Regions from separate parts of the Homo sapiens genome. Here regions 1, 3 and 4 are each linked to region 2. Evidence: promoter capture Hi-C in human tissues and cell types (Jung and others, 2019). All regions are on one chromosome and are shown on one strand. The core of a region is centred on a gene start or on the middle of the fragment in contact, and the rest is flanking DNA. Distances in the headings are between cores, read along the strand shown. Region 1 has its middle 51 kb from the start of DMRT1. Region 2 holds the start of DOCK8 (dedicator of cytokinesis 8). Region 3 overlaps LOC105375949 (a long non-coding RNA gene). Region 4 holds the start of DMRT1 (doublesex and mab-3 related transcription factor 1).

The links. The method cuts DNA at HindIII sites, captures the fragments that hold promoters and counts their contacts. A contact is called where the count stands out against the background at its distance.
Region 1: a contact is called between a fragment that was not itself captured here and the fragment with the promoter of DOCK8 in region 2, in 2 of the 25 tissues and cell types used here (dorsolateral prefrontal cortex and thymus).
Region 3: a fragment that was not itself captured here is called in contact with the fragment with the promoter of DOCK8 in region 2 in 1 of the 25 tissues and cell types used here (mesenchymal stem cells).
Region 4: a contact is called between the fragment with the promoter of DMRT1 here and the fragment with the promoter of DOCK8 in region 2, in 4 of the 25 tissues and cell types used here (H1 embryonic stem cells, IMR-90 fibroblasts, dorsolateral prefrontal cortex and 1 more).

The regions. Positions count from the first base shown.
Region 1 is chr9:789,569-792,268 of GRCh38, forward strand. No RefSeq gene overlaps it. Among named protein-coding and RNA genes, the nearest start is that of DMRT1, 51 kb to the right of the region's middle. The HindIII fragment of the contact is 5,334 bases long and covers 1-2,700 here.
Region 2 is chr9:213,415-216,114 of GRCh38, forward strand. DOCK8 (dedicator of cytokinesis 8) reads left to right here and starts at 1,451. Exons shown (of 48, transcript NM_203447.4): 1 at 1,451-1,615. The coding sequence starts at 1,563. It overlaps DOCK8-AS1 (DOCK8 antisense RNA 1), which reads right to left and starts at 2,336. Exons shown (of 1, transcript NR_160804.1): 1 at 43-2,336. RefSeq lists silencers at 1,206-1,455, 1,466-1,515, 1,566-1,615, 1,786-1,925. The HindIII fragment of the contact is 11,669 bases long and covers 1-2,700 here.
Region 3 is chr9:806,335-809,155 of GRCh38, forward strand. All of the region lies in intron 1 of LOC105375949 (a long non-coding RNA gene), which reads right to left. Among named protein-coding and RNA genes, the nearest start is that of DMRT1, 34 kb to the right of the region's middle. The HindIII fragment of the contact is 3,829 bases long and covers 1-2,821 here.
Region 4 is chr9:839,967-842,946 of GRCh38, forward strand. It overlaps DMRT1 (doublesex and mab-3 related transcription factor 1), which reads left to right and starts at 1,731. Exons shown (of 5, transcript NM_021951.3): 1 at 1,731-2,226. The coding sequence starts at 1,873. The HindIII fragment of the contact is 5,420 bases long and covers 1-2,980 here.

The DNA of each region.
Region 1 (2,700 bases), core at 1-2,500, 580 kb after region 2:
TGCACTTCAGCCTCGGCAACAGAGTGAGACCTTGGCCAAAAAAAAAAAAAAAAAAAAAAAAAAAAAAAAAAAAAAAAAAAAAAAAAAAAGTCACAGGGAAAGCCTGTCAGTGCTGCTGCTGCTGCAGCAACATTTCTGAGTTCAGTAATTAATGCATGTTAAGATCCTCCTCAATCTGTTCACATGCCTGACAATCTAATGAAGTATCAGCTATAGCCCATTTGTCAAAACCCTAAAGTCTTGTTCTCTTAATCTCCTTCATGCTAAAATTTCCCACTAAAGAAAGCAAGAGGCTTTAGCTGAAAGCAGGGCATAAGGCCCACTCAATGCAGTGTGGTCTCTGCTAAATGACTATTGGTTTGCGAGGACTACTGTAACAAAATTACTACAAACTGGGTGACTTAAAACAATATAAATTGTCTCACAGCTCTGGAGGCTGGAAGTCCAAAATCAAGGTGCTGGCAGCACTAAGCTCTCTTTGAAGAATATAAGAGAGCCCTTGTCTCCACTCACTTCCAGTGGTGGCTAGCAACCCTGGCATTCCTTGGTGTGTAGATACATCACTGCAAACTCTACCTGTCTTCATCCGGTCCTCTTCCCTCTGTGTCTGGGTCTTCACATGGTGTTGTCCCCTGTGTGTCTGTGTCCACATTCTCCCTCTTCATATAAGGATACCAGGAATTGAATTAGCCCCCTCTAATCCAGTATGACATCAATTTGTTTTTTTTGGCTTTTTTGGACAGGATCTCTGTCACCCAGGCTAGAGTGCAGTGGGTCATGGCTCACTGCAGCCTTGACCTCCAGGGCTCAAGCAATCCTCCCACCTCAGCCCCTTGAATAGCTGAGTCTACAGGGGCACGCCACCACATCAGGATAATTTTTGTATTTTTGGTAGGGAGGAGTTTTGCCATGTTGCCCAGGCTGGTCTCCAACTCCTAGGCTCAAGCAATCTGCCCGCCTCAGCCTCCCAAAGTGCTGGGATTATAGGCATGAGCCACTGTGCCCAGCCTGACCTCACTTTAAATTGACTAATTACATCTACAAAGATCCTATTTCCAAATGAGATCACATTCTGAGGTTGCAGGTGAACATGAATTTGGGGGTGGGGGGTGATATGACAATTGTCAACCCAGGACAGTGACTAAATCTTCCTGTGTGAGAGCTGGGGGCATGCTCCAAAGTGGCTGATTAGCTTACTCTCCTGAGGATACACTTACCTTAGCCCCTGGTCTGCTCCCAGCTAATGATAGTTGAGCACTTACTCTGGGCCAGGCCGTACCTAATTTTACACGCAGTAGCTCATTATATTACCACAAAAATCTTAAGAGGCTCTCACCATCCTCATTTTAAAAAAGAGGACACTAAAGGCTCTGAGATGTTAAATGAACTACAGAGGCCCCCATAGGTGAACCAAACTACCTCTGTGCCCATGTTCTTAACCCACATGCTCTGCTGCGTATGGTGGGAAACTACGGTATCAGAGCATTTAGGTCTGAACCAAGTGTGCTTCTTTTCTGCTTATTTTGCTTTTTGTAGTTTTAGGAAATGTAAAACTAAAATATGTAGGGGAAATACTACATCAATGTTCACATTTTTACATTTATTTTTTGAGACGGAGTCTCACTCCGTCGCCCAGGCTGGAGTGCAACGGCGCGATCTTGGCTCACTGCAACCTCTGCCTCCCAGGTTCGGTTTCAAGCTATTCTCCTGCCTCAGCCTCCCAAGTAGCTGGGACTACAGGTGCACACCTCCACGCCCAGCTAGTTTTTGTATTTTTAGTAGACAGGGGTCTCACCACATTGGCCAGGCTAGTCTTGAACTCCTGACATCAAATGATCCACCCGCCTCGGCCTCCCAAAGTGCTGGGATTACAGGTGTGAGCCACTGCGCCCGGCCAATGTTCACATTTTTAAAATAAAACAAAAATATTTGAAAGGAAATTACCCAGGATAATTACAACTGTGTAGCAATGAGAAAGGAAAAGGCTACCTATGAGAAACAGTACAAATCTCTTTAAATTAGTCACACACAGCAAATTTAAACCAAAGACCCCAGGTAAGATACCTTCATGTCATGATTTGGGTTTCTTCCCTGAATCCATGAGCACCACGTAAGGAAGGTGCGGCCTCTACTTTCTTTCTCCTTGATTGAGAGAGCAGCTGCTGGTTTCCAGGTTCAGGAGTAGGCTGGAGGAAACAATCCTTCTGGCACAACCACGATCCTTCCCGAGACCGTGCCTGAGATGCCTCTTCCACGGGGTGCCTCCCTCCTGGCCGTACCCTGTGAGGCTGCTCTACCCGTCTCCAGAGGAAAGAACAGGCACAATTTTTTTGAGATTGAGTCTCGCTCTGTCGCCCAGCCTGGAATGCAGTGGCGCAATCTCGGCTCACAGCAACCTCCGCCTCCCAGGTTCAAGTGATTCTCCTGCTTCAGCCTCCTGAGTAGCTGGGATTACAGGTGTGTGCCACCACGCCCGGCTAATTTTTGTATTTTTAGTAGAGACGGGGTTTCACCACGTTGGCCAGGATGGTCTCGATCTTCTGACCTCATGATCCACCCACCTCGGCTTCCCAAAGTGCTGGGATCACAGGTGTGAGCCACCGCACCGGCCGACCAGAACAGGCGGATATTTCAAAGGAGCCACATCCCCCAACATCACCTCTCCCACCTGCGAGGTGAGTGATAGCTTCCCACCACACT
Region 2 (2,700 bases), core at 201-2,700:
AGCCACATGTGTAATTTTACATTTTTAAAAATGCAAACCACATTTTTAAAAGGGGAAAACAAACAGGTGAAATTAACTTTAATAATATATTTTTTATATCCAAAGTATCATTTAACATGCAATCAACATGAAAATCATTAACAAGACATTTTACACGATGTTTTCTGCGCTGTCTTTAAATTCCAGTGTACATTTTACACATCCAGCAGTGGGCAATTCAGACTAACCATAATGCCGAGTGGTCAATAGCCACATGTGGCTAGTGGCTATCATATTAAATAGTGCAGGTTTGAACCAAAAATACTTCGCTTTGGTTGTTTTTTTTTTTTTCTTTTAGACGGAGACTTGCTCTGTCGCCAGGCTGGAGTGCAGTGGCAGATCTCGGTTCACTGCAAGCTCCGCCTCCCGGGTTCAAGTGATTCCCCTGCCTCAGCCTCCCAAGTAGCTGGGACTAAGGCGTGCGCCACCACGCCCGGCTAATTTTTTGTATTTTAGTAGAGACGGGGTTTCACCACGTTGGCCAGGATGGTCTCGATCTCCTGACCTCGTGATGCGCCCGCCTCGGCCTCCCAAAGTGCTGGGATCACAGGCGTGAGCCACCGCGCCCGGCCTGCTTTGGTATTTTTTAAGAGCAAGTTGGTAAATGGAGGCATTATATGGAGAGTGCTCGAGTATATATAGCACAGGTTAGAGCAGCACGCCGGCACCTTGAAGCGAACACGGGCTCCTCCACTCCCGTCAACACTGGGACTTTTCTGTTTTTATCTTGAGTTTGAGGCCGGGCTTCTTAGCAGACCTCAGTCTGAAACTGAAATAAACCTGGACGCAGCGTACCCTTGAATCGCAAGAACGCCGCCTTCAGTGTTTCTCCGGAGAAAAGCATTCACGCCAGGTTGTGACGAAAACATTTTTTGAGAACTCATAATGTTTATTCCTTGGATGAATCCATTATATTTATTTAGTGTCTCAGGAAGGATGATGGGCATATTGCTTGCAAAAGTTGATTTGAATCCTGATAGATTCCACTAACTTTTTTGTCTTTTTTTTTGGCTGCCTTCTTCGAGAATGGTGTCAACCCTTAATAACACCTAGCCTTACGAATCCCTGGGGTGATTCCCGACCTCGCCAGCTTTGTGGGGCTCCCCCGACTTGCCTACATTCCCTGGCAGCCTCGCAGCTTCGGGCAGATGGAGCTTCCGGCCTGCGCGCAGTGGTCGCCTGTCGTCCGCCCGCGCTCCCTTCGGCCGGAGGTCGGCGGCCCCGGGCAGAGCGCGCCGTCTGCCCCAGTATCGGGAGGCCAGTTCCGCGCTGGGCCCACGCCCTCCTCGCCCGCCGCTGCCTGCGCGCCAGGCCGGGTGGCGGAGCCGGCCGTCGCTGCTCCGAGCTCGGACCCTCCCCCGGGGTGATTTCGGCTTAGAAGGTGGAAATGCGGAAGTTTCCAGCGCCGACCGACAGACGAGGTTTGCGCTTGGCTGGGCATGTTCCGCGGCTACTCTGCGGCGCGCCAGGCCCCCGCTTTCCGCACCCCGCGACCCTAGAAGCCACCGAACCGCCGGCGGGCCATGGCCACTCTGCCGAGCGCAGAGCGCCGCGCGTTCGCGCTCAAGATCAACAGGTAAGACGCCCCCCGCGGCGCGCAGGTTGCGGCCGGACAGCCCAGCGCTGGTGTGAAGCGGAGCTTCGCTGCAGGGGCCGAGGCCGGACGAGTCCATTCGCGTCCGCGGCGGGGCGCGCCTGAGACCTGGGGCGCCCGGTTCCCGAGGCTGCGGCGGTGGAGCCGCTGGACGCGCGGCGGCTCCTGCGCTGGGCCCGGCGAGGTCCTCCCCAAGAATCTCGGTGCTCCTGGATGTCCTCAGCCGCCGGGGATCCCTTCCCCGAACAACCTCGCCCGCTCCGCCCTCCAGGTTCTTACAGGTGGCCGGGTCCCAGAAGGGTGATAGGCGCCTGGGTAACCGTGTTGGGCGCGCCACGGAGTGTCTCATAAACGGCTCCTTCCTTTGAGGCAAGTCTGAGCGCGGGGGGAAGAAGTGAAGTGGCTGAAATTAGAGTTGCGTTTGAGGCAGGCTGCAAGCCTTCTGTCGTCCTGAGCAAGGCTCCGTCCTCGCCTGCTTCATTATTCCAGAAAGAGCTTGGCTCCTGGTGGCATCGCTATTTTTATACCCTGGTCCAAAGGAGCCATGAAGTGGAAAAAGTGATTTTTTAAAAAATCTACACTTAAATAAACCAAAAGAAATGGCCTGTGGCTGACATTTTGAGATTTACAGAACTCCAGCAAAAAGCTAAGGACTGGGGGATCCCAACTCACCATCCAATTCCTAATCAAAGTTGCACAAACTAAATATGTAAGCACATTTACTGCTCAAAGTTCTCAGTAAAGGTGCTTTAACTGCAGTTTTTCCTCCACTAAAAACTGCTGACAAGTAATTGGGACATTTTTGTCTTGCCCTGAGAAAGCTAGACTGTCTAGTTAAAAGATAATAGGAAACTCATTCTAAAGTGTCAACTTATTCTATTGCCCACAGGGCTGTCCGATTTGTTAATCTTCACTTAGCTGAGCCTGTGAAAGGTGGATTCCACCGTAGGTTCATCTTTGTGCTGTTAGTGTGTGAAGAGGTTTGAACAAGGAATTAAAAGCCTAGAAAAACAAGGCGATAAGGTCTTCTAGAGGGCATATCGAGCTTTATTGACGATTTTATTTCC
Region 3 (2,821 bases), core at 48-2,547, 590 kb after region 2:
GAACAAGAGTGAAACTCCATCACAAAAAAAAAAAAAAAAAGAGGTGAAGAGGTGGCCTTAGCACCTCGGGCATAGTGGCTCATGGCTGTAAATTACCCAGTCTGTGATATTTCGTTACAGCAGCACACATGGACTAAGACAATGGGCTCATACTTGCAAAGCAGTCAACCTTCTTTCTGGAGAGGTGCTTAGTTATTATATCAATTGTAAATAGTTTGCTTTGATCTAAAGGCAAATCTAATTGCATTAAATAAAGATCATATAAAACTGCTAACAACAGTGTTGGTGAAATGGGCAGCTTAAGGAAGGGAAGAAGAAAAAAAGAAATTCACCAAATCCAAAACAAAAAAAAACCCAAAAACCAAAACAAAAAAACGACAAATGGAACTCCAAATGAATGGGGTATTTATGCCACCTACTGGATTCTTGTTGCACTGCTTAGTTGTGCCCTAATTTCCAGGGTTCTTTCTTGTCCTCTGACAATCCACAAATCTACCAGTCTTTTTAATACCCAACTGGACTTCCTTCCTTCCTTAAAGTTCCAGAACTGTTAATTGATGTGTACTGGGCACATCTGCAAATCAACTCATTCTGCAAGTCCTTGCTCAAGGCTCCTCCTCTGCAAAACCCTACCTGACCCACTGAGGTGCAGGATCAACCCCTCCTTCGGCCAAGTCTTTCTCCTCAGTTGCCAGCTCACCTAACCTTGTGTCGTGAGGGCTGGTGTGTCTGTCTCCCGCTTAGCGTGTAAGTACCTAAGGGCACATTGCTTCTTCCTACCTGCTTTGTACCTGGAGTGTCATAAGGATGGTGTTAATTCAGTCAGACCTTGTTCAAGTGCTACAATTAATTCTATCCTCACAATCCTATGAGTAGAGATTATCATGCCTGTTTCACAGATAAGGAAACCAAGGCACAGAAGGGTTAAGGAACTTCACCAAAGTCACCAAGGTAGAAATGGCAGGGCAGTCTTCAGGCCAGGCAGTCCAGCTCCCTGTGTCCTTCGTTGCTATGCTCCCAGCCACTTGATGAAAACTGAGGTATCCTCTGTGTTTCATTTATGAAACTGGCCCTGTGTTCACCTGTCACAGACGGCCACCATCCTAGGCTGTAGCGCTGCCCTCCAGGTCCCCTGTGCCCTCTTCTCCACTCTGCTCTGTGTCCCAAAATCTGGCCTCTATGGACTGCATCAACAGGCCCCTTGTCCTCTAGCTTTAGTTTGCGTGTGGTCATAAAAGGTACCCTTAAAAGTAGGAGGGTAGGACAAGGGCAAGGAAGGAGTCTTTCTTTCCCTGGTTTTCTCCCTGCTGGGTGACCAGAGGTTGGCTGCAGGTCTCTGCTGAAGCCAAGGCCTCTGCCAGATGGCATTCTCCAAAGCTTCAGCCCCTTTCTTGGGTTCCTAGGACTATTCCTTGTCCCTTCAGGTGTCGGATGGTGGTGGCTCCCTTTGTTGCCATCCCCAGGGAGGCCTGTTGCTATCCCATGTTGGTTTCCCTTAACCTTCCTCAAACTTCTGTAAATTATCTCTTTATTAAATTCTCCTCCATTCCCCACCTAAGGGTACCACCCTCCTCCTGTCAGTAGCCTAACTCACATAGCCTCCAAATACTTTACCCACCTGCTGAAATTCCTCCCCCCTGCTCAAATCCCACCACTCAGTTTTTGGGAGTTACAGATATCCTTTGCTGAAAGGCAAATGCTAGGAATCCCAAGCCAATAATAACTATTTATCAGATTGCTTTCCAACCCTGATTCAGGAGGAATAAGTTTTATACTGGGTAATAGGAACAAGGGAGCAGGCCAGGAGTGGAAGAGAAGGGGAATGAGAGGTGAGATGGCCCCAAGGACAAAATTCGCATAGATACTAAGAACACTTCCAGAGGATGCTATCCTCTGCAGTGGCTGCAGCCTGGGAGCTGTGTGGGGAACAGAGATGAGTACGATTCACAGCTCTGCTACTTAAAAGTTGACAGCTGTTAACTTCTCAGAGCCTCTCTTAATTTATAAAAGGTGAACAACAGTAGTATATGCTTCATAGGGTTGTTCTGAGGATTAAACAAATAATGCAGGCAAAATGCTTACTGCAGTGACCATCCAAGCCAACATGGTGAAACCCTGTCTCTACTAAAAATACAAAAAAATTAGCTGGGCGTGGGCGTGGTGGCTTGTGCCTGTCGTCCCAGCTACTAGGGAGTCTGAGACAGAAGAATCGCTTGAACCGGGGAGCAGAGGTTGCAGTGAGCTGAGATTGTGCCACTGCACTCCAGCCTGGTGACAGAGAGATTCCGTCTCAAAAACAAACAAACAAACAAAATAACCATCACAATGACCATTTAGTTCCCATTTAGTACAATCCTTTACAGGTTATAAGATAATGCTGCTCTGCAACGTGTGTGTGTGTGTGTGTGTGTGTGTGTGTGTGGTGTGTGTGTGTGGTGTGTGTGGTGTGTGTGGTGTGTGTGTGTGGTGTGTGTGGTGTGTGTGTGTGGTGTGTGTGTGTGGTGTGTGTGGTGTGTGTGTGTGGTGTGTGGTGTGTGTGTGTCTGGTGTGTGTGGTGTGTGTGGTGTGTGTGTGTGGTGTGTGTGTGTGGTGTGTGTGGTGTGTGTGTGTGGTGTGTGCGGTGTGTGGTGTGTGTGTGTGTGGTGTGTGCGGTGTGTGGTGTATGTGTGGTGTGTGTGTGTGTGTGTGGTGTGTGGTGTGTGTGGTGTGTGTGTGGTGTGTGGTGTGTGTGTGTGGTGTGTGTGTGGTGTGTGTGTGGTGTGTGTGTGGTGTGTGTGTGGTATGTGTGTGGTGTGTGGTGTGTGTGTGTGTGTGTTTTCTT
Region 4 (2,980 bases), core at 481-2,980, 630 kb after region 2:
TAATGGAAGATTGTTTTAATGGAAGATTTAAGTGGTTATCATTTATAAGTTTCCAGGATGGAATAGATTGTTGCATCCTAGCTCCTGTCAGGAGTAGAGCTTCACTGGTTTCACAGGTAGGGTATGAGGTGCTGTGTAAAGCTAGAAGCTTCTTTTGGAAGTAATTTTCAGACAGAGAATACTAATGGAGAAATTTCAGACTGAGGGAAAGGGCCTGTGAGAGAGGCCTCAGAATTAGAGCTCCAAAGGCAGATTCGAGGATTTCAGAACTCAGTGCTGAAAACACCAAACTGCTGAAAGAGGTGGCCACAGTACAACCATTTTGATGAGAAGTTGAACAGGGTGACCATGCCTCTTTGGAGAAATAATCCCCTAGGTCTGGAGGCGGCCCAGGATCCTGAAGGTGAGTACCAGTGCTGGTGGAAAATAAGGAGCATTCAAAGTGCATTAAGAGCCACTCCGGGGTCTTTAACTTGTTAACATGGAAAACAATAGCAAAGTACTGCTGGGGCCCCCTGCTGTGTGTATAGAATATACCGGAAGACTAAGACATGGAGATAGCAGCTGGGAGCTACCGCAGAGATTCAGACTTGAGGTGAAGGGCTGGCCTTAGGGGGGCACGTGGGTGTGTAGGAAGAACTGCTCAGCAGGCCTTAGGGATACATTTGTTGTGCAGGTGCAGAGAGGACACAGGCATGGCTGGGGCGGGAGTTCAGGATGAGAACCCTGGGACAGGCTGTAAGATGATCGAGCCAGGGGTGTGTGTGTGTGTGTGTGTGTGTGTGTGTGTGTGTGTGTGTGTAGAGGTATAATGACATACTGTAAAATGCAAGATATGAAGTGTAGAATGAGTTTTGATACATTTCTACATCTGTGTAACCACCCCCCACAACCTCAGTTTTTTTTAATACATATGTTTCTTTTTAAGTTTGAGTTTCCCGTGCCTGCAGAGTCTAAGTTTAAACAGCCTCACAGACAAGAAGCTATATGCACCTGAAGTGAACGGGAACACGGGCTGCAACAGTAGATCGTAAAGTTATTTGGAGCGAAGGAGGTAGAAGTGTTGTGAGCAAATGAAGACAGGTGCAGGAAGGGATAAACGGAGAACAGAAAGTTCCAACCTTTGAGATTTTTGAAGTGCTTGTGCCCCAACACTGAGGATCTTCTTTGCCGTATATAGGGCAACTCTGATTTACCCTATAAATTTCTCAGGCCTTCCACCTCATATTTAATTCTCTTAAGCGAGAAAAAAAATTTTTTTCTGACTTGGCTGCTGCCAAGGTCGGCTCTATCAAATCTGGTGCGTCTCTCTGGGGGAAAGGGAGCTAGAAGACCCCATAGGGTGGTTTGCACCTCCTCTAAGCATGCAAGCACGGCTCTGGTCTTGACCTGGGGAGCCCAGCTTCCTCGGTGCACCGTGCTTTGGCAACCGGGTCTTGGCGCCTCCGAGAGCGGGGCGAGGGGTGCCACGCGATTCCCAGGCCGCTCTGTATCTCTCGGTGCGCTTGCAGGGACCCTGCAGCAAAGCCCTGGATGCTTGCAGCCGGTGCAAGTTTGCAAGCAGCTGGAGAGCGGTGGCTGGAGTCGGGGGGCGGTGGGCGTGGCCACGCTCCCTCCCAGGCAGTCCCGGGAATGTTCTGAAAAGTATCCGAAAGTTCTGAGTCGCGCGCGCGCCAAAAGAAAAGGCACAACCCCCCACCACTCCGGGCGTGGCGTGCCCAGACCTCGCCACTCCAGCTGCGCCTCCGGCTGCAGCGCACACGTCTCCTGCGCCTCCTCCTCCGGAGCGTCGCTGTCCGTCGGGTTCATCCCTCGCAGCAGTCTCCAGGCGAGAGAGGGGGCCAGAGTGCTCGCACTTCTCCTAGGGGCACCATGCCCAACGACGAGGCATTCAGCAAGCCCTCTACACCGTCGGAAGCCCCTCACGCCCCCGGGGTACCGCCGCAGGGCAGAGCCGGGGGCTTTGGCAAAGCGTCTGGGGCGCTAGTGGGGGCGGCCAGCGGCTCGAGCGCCGGGGGCAGCAGCAGAGGAGGCGGCTCCGGCTCCGGGGCGTCGGACCTGGGTGCCGGGAGCAAGAAGTCCCCGCGGCTGCCCAAGTGCGCACGCTGCAGGAACCACGGCTACGCCTCGCCGCTCAAGGGCCACAAGCGCTTCTGCATGTGGCGCGACTGCCAGTGCAAGAAGTGCAACCTGATCGCCGAGAGGCAGCGCGTGATGGCCGCGCAGGTGGGTGCGGGCGTGCGGGAGCCCGGGTTCAGCCTTAGTTTTTTTTTTTTTTTTTTTTTTTAGATGGAGTCTCGCTCGGTTGCCCAGGCTGCAGTGTAGTGGCGCGATCTTGGCTCACTGCAACCTCCGCTTCCCGGGTTCAAGCAATTCTCCTGCCTCAGCCTCCCAAGTAGCTGGGACTACAGGCGCACACCACCATGCCCGGCTAATTTTTGTATTTTTAGTAGAGACGGGGGTTTCACCATATTGGTCAGGCCGGTCTCGAGCTCCTGACCTCAGGTGATCCACCCGCCTCGGCCTCCCAAAGTGCTGGGATTACAGGCGTGGGCCACCGCTCCCGGCGGGGCCCGAGTTTCTTGAATGAAGTCCCCCCAGCATGGCCGTTGCCATGCGGGTCCTGGGTTGTGGAGAGATGCGGCGGTACTTGCCGACAGCGGCGGCGCTTGGGGTCCTGGGCTCCCGGCCACGCTACATCGCCGGTCTGGGAGCGCCGGAGACGCGTCTGATCCCGCCCGCCGGGCAGAGTTGCGGGCTTCGCTCGGCTCGGGGTTCCCCACGATCTCTCACCCTGTGTTTCGGCGGAGTTGCGGGGGTTCCCTCTGCTCCCGGGTCCCTGAGATCCCTGATCCCGCTCTCAGGGCAGGGAATTCCGGGGTTCGCCCCTCTGGGCTTCCCCGCGATCCCAGAGCCCGCGTTCCAACAGAATTGGGAGGGTTTATTGCGCTAGAGGAGTCTTCAGGATCTTCGCTCCCGC